Linked DNA regions of Homo sapiens: region 2 is linked to region 1. The links are contacts of gene promoters, found by promoter capture Hi-C in blood cells and fetal thymus (Javierre and others, 2016). All regions are on one chromosome and are shown on one strand. The core of a region is centred on a gene start or on the middle of the fragment in contact, and the rest is flanking DNA. Distances in the headings are between cores, read along the strand shown.

Region 1 (3,456 bases), core at 283-2,782:
CAGGGTGGTCTCGAACTCCTGGCCTCAAGCAATCCTCCTACCTCGGCCTCCCAACGTGCTGGGATCACAGGCATGAGCCACTGTGCCTGAACTAAATACTGTTAGTATCACGTCTGCCTCCTTCTCCTTATGTCTCCACGAACCAGTTCCTCTGCTGACTTCCTTATTTCTGGGGCCCACATCTCATTCTCCAGTTTGTATTATACAGAGCCTTTTTCCCACAGTGCCTGCCATGGGATCCCCCAGTCCTCCATTCTACCTGAAAAACTCGCAAGCCTCCCGTGAGAGCCATCTGTGGTGCCCTTGGTTCCTCTGTGAGGCTGCCACCACCCTGCACCCTAGGGTGAGTAGTGCCCCAGAAGGACCTCACAAACTCCAGTGAAGGGACTCACAGGCACAGTCTCAACTGTGTCCCTGAGGTCCCCAGCCAGGTTTCTCTACCCTGCAGCCCACGTGGGGTAGAGGGACCATCTAGGCAGCTGTGAAGCTACCTGGGTGGGTGGTGGGGGGAGGCAAGCAGGAGCCCCAGTAAGGAGTCAGGGCCCCTTGGCAGCTGCGGTCAACTTTGAGGTTTGCAGCCTCCTGCTCCTGTCTTAAAGGGATGAGGACAGCTCCTCTGAATGAGGGGGCATGGACCTTGAGGGGCACCTGGGGAGTGAGAGGACAGAGGGAAGAGGACTAGACAGAGGAGGGGGACAGGCAGACCTGCTCCCTCCAGGCTGGGCTGGCCCTACCGGGCTGGGTGGGGTACCCCCTCCAGCTTATAGGGTCTCCCACACCATCAGCCCCGCTATGGGGCCTGGACGGAAGGGCTGGGGCAATGGCCTGGGGAGGGGGCTCGGGAAACAAGGCTGTAGAACAGGGAAAGCTCCAGCAAAGGGAAGCCCTCTATGCTGTACGTTTCCTGGAAAGGACGATCCCGGGGGGCAGCTGCTGCTGTCAACCCGGTAAAGCTCACAAGCCCCCACACCAGATCCCCCCAGATCCTCTCACGGCTCAGCTCCAGGGACCGGCAGAGACTCTCCCCGGACGGGTCTCGCCTCCCTAAGGGTCTCTGCTTCGCCTGTGAGAGGAGGGGTTGATGTCCTGACTCTAAGGTGTCTCGGCTCTCTGCGTCCTCAGGAGCACGCGCTGCTGGGGGCGCGGGCGGCAGAGGGTGGGCCCTGGAGTCCGAGCCCCCGGGACTCGCGGGCACGCGGTGGGTAGCGGGGGACAGAGAGGGAACAGCAGCCCGGCGTCCGCTCCAAGTCTGCCCCTCGAGCAGTGGGGCTGGGGCCCCGATCCCTTCACGCGCGAGCTCCGCCAAGCCCCCGGGCGCGCGGTCACCGAGTGGCGCCGGAGCTGGGGAGCCCCCCACGCCCGCCGCGTTGGCCTCCCGCCCGGGCCGGGTCCTGAGCCCCGCGATCCGCTGTCGGCCCCACGACTTACCCAAAAGTTTCCCTTGAACAGTGAGCGCGTCATCGCAGCGCGAGTGGGGGCGCGGAGGAGAGCCGGGCCGCAGGTAGCACAGAGCGGGGAGGCCTGACTGCCACTGCCCGCGGCTCCGCAGACTCAACTTCTGCGTTCCACACTCGCGCAGGGAAGCCGCCCCCGGGTCCTAAACCACTCCCGATTGCGACGGCCGCCGTCGGCGCTCTGCGCTCCCTGCGCGAGACCTGGGCGGGACCCTCGGCGCTCACCCGGCCAGGGGCTGCAGCCCGCACCCGGACCCAGGCCCATTTAAAGCCCCACAGCGTCGGGCCACGATCAATATATCAGCCCGAAGCTAGCTGCCTCCTTCTGGAAGTCTTTGGGTATTGGAAATAACTGGTCCTGGCTTGGGTTCCTGCCCACAAGGCCCCCTGGACAGCACGAAATCCAGGCTCTGCGGGGTGATAGACGGGATCTGATCAGATGGTCGCGAGGACCCGGTTTAAGCTACAGAAGGCCTGGGGCCGACAACTCCCGCAGACGCCTTGGCTTCACGGCGGGCCCCACCGGCACCTGCTGCAGATCAGGCCCTGGGGGACGGTTCATTTTTTATTTTACTTTTTGTTGTTGCAGGTGTTTTTAATGAATGGGGTCACGTTTTAGTCTAAAATGTCATGGAGAGGTCATCTCTGCTGTTTCCCCTTGACTCTAGTCACTTGGTGGTGTCCTAACAGGGCTTCCAGGAGCTCAGCCGCTCTCTGACTCCCTTTCCATTCTCAAAAGGCAAGACCCTTCCCTGCCCATTCCACCCCAGCAAGAGGGGCCCAAGATTCCTTCTTCTCCCTCCACTCTTCCACCCTCACAAATAAAACCCCAGGGCAGGTCAGACCCCTCTCTGCATTGTAGTAGATTGGTACAAAAGTAATTGCGGTTTTTGCCATGACTTTTAATAGTAATGCAGGGCTTATGACAAAGTACTGCCTGGTGCGACAGGCCCGAAGCCCAACCTGAGGCCCAGAGGGGTTGAATGGCTTGCCCAAGATCACAGTTTATTTAAGGGATGAAGAGCTCAAGGTTAGAGCTCTGCCCTTCTAAATAGATGCAAAGACAGACATCCTTCCTGGGGCAGATCCATCCTGGGCAGAGGAATAGGTGCTCAAAGTGGGGAGGATAAAGGTCAAGGTTGCCAAGACTGGCACCAGCCCAGCCTGGAGAAGCAAGCACTCACCCCTGGAGCAGGTTCTAGCTACACCCAGACACAGTGAAAGGGCAATTGCTAGAATTATGTGAAGCACCTGGAACAAGTTCTGCTCCATAAAACTGCAGCCAGCCCCACTCAGATGAACTCCCACCAATAAAGTCATCCACAACTGCAAAGATGGAGAGGTGGCCTCCAGCCACCAAGCATCTCCAAGGGATGCATCCATTTACGTACTTGCTCATATCCTTTGAAAGCAGTGAGATTAGAAGGAAGGCAGAGAAGCCTGGCAGAACCATCAAGGGGCAGCAGAGGACGTGGTAGGCACTAGGAAGCTAGGCTTAACTGCAGGGGGTAAGAAATGGCACAAACTGGGGACATAGAAGCGGGAGAGCTGAAGACACCACTAAGGTTTTTCCTGGAAGTTTTAAATATTCTGGAAAAATAGTTTAGATACAATTCTAATTGTCACATTTTAATTTTTAATACATGTATAATTTTAAGTTATTAGAACGTTTCACAAGCTCTCACAGTACATTGTGCTTGATTTTCGCGACTCAGACTCTAAGCTCCCTGAATTTTAACCCTCTTCCGCCATCTGGTGACAAAGTTTTTAATTGCAAATGGTCATCCACGCTGCTGGAAAATATTCTTCATTCCTCAAACAGCTCATCTCTGGGGCAGGTATTGTGAGTAAAAAAACAAACAAAGTGTGTGCTATATCCAAGGGACATATTTAGGATATTTTACTAACTTCTGTGGTTTGAATGTTGCCCCCTCCAAGAATTCTTGTTGAAACTTAATCTGAAATGAGACAGTATTGAGAGAGGTAGGATCTTTAAGAGGTG
Region 2 (3,002 bases), core at 33-2,532, 170 kb before region 1:
CAACCAGCAAATACCGCCTGGGATAGCCTCAACTAGCAACAACAGTACTATATAACTTTCAAGATTATTTAAGTCTCCGCCTATAAAAGTTGTTCACTGTCCATGTTTTTAATTGCCCTGGCAAATCTGCGTTATCAGGCAAAACACTGGCTGCAGTCGATACTATTATTGATACTGAACTTCTAGGAGCCATCAGTGAGGGATCTCAAGCTTGTGGAACTTCCCAAGTGGGACTAAAAGTCAGGGCACTAAGCAAACGAGTGAGGCCAGCAGAAAAGTAAAACCTGCTTTAAGAAAACTTAAATATTTCTAATGAGGTTAGGGCCACAAAATACAGCTATTTTTTCAAATTCTTTACGCTTCTGCAACATCTCCTTTTTTCCCTCTCTCCTTCATTACTTTTCCCCCTTCTTTCTTCAAGCTATATTAGCAATTACCAATTTTTCTTTTTTTTTCTTGAGACAGGGTCTCACTCTGTTGCCCAGGCTGGAGTGCGGTGGCACAGTCACAGCTCACTGCAGCCTGGACCTCCTGCGGTTAAGTGATCCTCCTGCTTCAGCCACCCAAGTAGCTTGGACCACAGGCGTGCGCCACCATGCCCGGCTTATTTTTGTATAATATTTTTTGTAAAGACAGAGTTTCTCCATGTTGCCCAGGCTGCTGAACTCCTGAGCTCAAGCAATCTGCCCACCTCAACCTCCCAAAGTGCTAGGATTACAGGAGTGACCCACCACGCTCAGCCCAACTTTTCTTTAAAGAAAAGAAAGCACAAGAACTTTGGTATGTTTGTAAAAACATCTAAGCCATGTTCACATCAGTCCTTATCATAAATCATCTTTTCTCTGACCTCCCTCCAATCAAAATTACCTAGAAGACATTTTAGAAAAGGTGTTTCTTTTTATTTCAGAATTAACAAAGCAAAAGATTATGTTTAAAATCTCAATTCAAGGGTTCAGACAAATAATATAATACTATGATCCCTTTTTCTGTAAAGGAAAAGAGACAAGTCACAGGTAGGCTTAGAGCTTCAGCTCCCTGGCCTGCCTGGTGGTATTTTCCACTGCAAGGCCCAGAGAGTTAACAGGAGGTCAGGGCAAGAGACCTGTTCTTTAGCTGAGGCAGTAAATATTTACAGTTCTTCACAGAGCAAGCCATCAGCCAGAACTGGAAAAACATTTCTTTATAGTTATCTCACTTGTCACTTATAAAAATGCATTTTAGAATTCTCTTCTCTATATAAAATTAACAGTCTGGCAAAGATATGTAGTTTTAAAATATGGAAAAACACAAATTGGTGAAGACACCCCTTTTTTTATTAAAACCGGATACATTTTCAGTTTTTTCCTCACTAACTCGAACTCCACCCAAAATTGGCAAACTTTTCTCCCAGTTTTATTACTTCAGCAAGCGATCTTTTCTTAAATATTTCTACCTTGGTCTTACTATAACAGCATTAGTAACTGGGAAAAAAATACACCAAAAGAAAACCAACTGTATAAAGCACCTGGCCAAAGATAACTCAATGTTTAAGAGTCGCACATATTTACAATAACATACGGGAAAATAAGTTGGACTCATCCTAACTTTTAGGTCAAATTTCTGAACTTTAGACAAATACAACTATGTTGAAAAATCAGAGACACATTTTGAAAGTAATGAAAAATACAATACATATAAAAGATTATTTCAGAGAAGACATTTTGTAGAAAAGAGTCTCCCAAGGAAATTGATGGAGACATTGGAATAGTTACAATGAAAATTAGCAAAAAAAGAAGGGAAATTTCTGAAAGACAAACAAGAGGGAGTAAAATAAATTTTCTCCAATTTCCAAAAGCTAACAAAAAAGAATCATTTGTGTGTAGACAGATTTAGACAATAGGCAGTGCTAATCTCCAAGCATTTCTCTTTCAGCTTAAGGAATACTGACTTCACTCGAAGGAGGAATACAGTGCGGTGATTAATGAACACAGGCTGGCCGGGTGCGGTGGCTCAGGCCTGCAATACCAGCACTTTGGGAGTCCGAGACAGGCAGATTGCTTGAGCCCACTAGTTTGAGAGCAGCCTGGGCAACATGGCAAAATCCCATCTCTACTACAAAACCCCATCTCTACTTTAAAAAGAGCACTGGCTCTGGAGCCGGACTGCCTGGGCCTTTCTGGCTGTGCCACTTACGGGCTGTGGCACTTCAGGTGAGCAACTTAATTAACTTCTCTGTGACTCTACTTCCTTACCTGAGAAATGAAGATAATATGATAAAGGCCACCTTGCAGAGTTGTTGTGAGGATAAAATAACTTATTTAAAGTGTTTAGACAGGGCCTGGCATAAAGTAAATGCTATGGCACACTAGCTTCAGCGAAGCTTCCATTGTGAAGTGCATACCATATTGCAGATCCAAATTCTGCCTATATTCCAGTGCAAGAAGGTAACTCTGAGAGGCAGTTCAAGTTTCAGTCACATTGTTGCATGTCTCTCCTCTGCCTGTCAGCAAGTTCCACCCAACTAATCTGCTTCCCATATATCCTTCCCACGTTCATCTTCAGGGGCTCCCTGCCATGTGCAGCAGACAGCCAGAGTTCCCAATGATGGTGCACACCAAGCTTTCCAATGTGAATTCCCACCAACACCCCCAAAACACTTGGAACGGGCTGACCTAGCCACCGACCCCTAAATGACATCATGGCCACTCCATTTCCAAATTCCTTCTAACTGTATCATCACCAAAGTCTTTTAATCAATTGAGACCGGACGCGGTGGCTCACGCCTGTAATGCCAGCACTTTGGGAGGCCGAGGCGGGTGGATCACCAGGTCAGGAGTTCAAGACCAGCCTAACCAACATGGTGAAATCCCATCTCTACTAAAAACACAGAAATTAGCCGGGCGTGGTGGCAGGTGCCTGTAATCCCAGCTACTCGGGAGGCTGGGGCAGGAGAATCACTTGAACCCGGGAGGTGGAGGTTGCAGTGAGCCAAGATCGCGCCACTGCACTCCAGCCTGGGGACT

Evidence for each region. Contacts are between HindIII fragments. The CHiCAGO score rates a contact against its expected background, and 5 or more counts as called.
Region 2: a contact is called between a fragment that was not itself captured here and the fragment with the promoter of PSTPIP2 in region 1, in 1 of 17 cell types (non-activated CD4 T cells). The highest score is 5.4, in non-activated CD4 T cells.

The regions. Positions count from the first base shown.
Region 1 is chr18:46,070,728-46,074,183 of GRCh38, forward strand. PSTPIP2 (proline-serine-threonine phosphatase interacting protein 2) reads right to left here and starts at 1,533. Exons shown (of 15, transcript NM_024430.4): 1 at 1,429-1,533. The coding sequence starts at 1,461. RefSeq lists enhancers at 19-118, 159-218, 1,438-1,939 and silencers at 1,069-1,448, 1,489-1,538, 1,669-1,828. The HindIII fragment of the contact is 16,135 bases long and covers 1-3,456 here.
Region 2 is chr18:45,896,105-45,899,106 of GRCh38, forward strand. The region is part of intron 27 of EPG5 (ectopic P-granules 5 autophagy tethering factor); the gene reads right to left. Among named protein-coding and RNA genes, the nearest start is that of EPG5, 70 kb to the right of the region's middle. RefSeq lists enhancers at 960-1,254, 2,087-3,002. The HindIII fragment of the contact is 2,149 bases long and covers 209-2,357 here.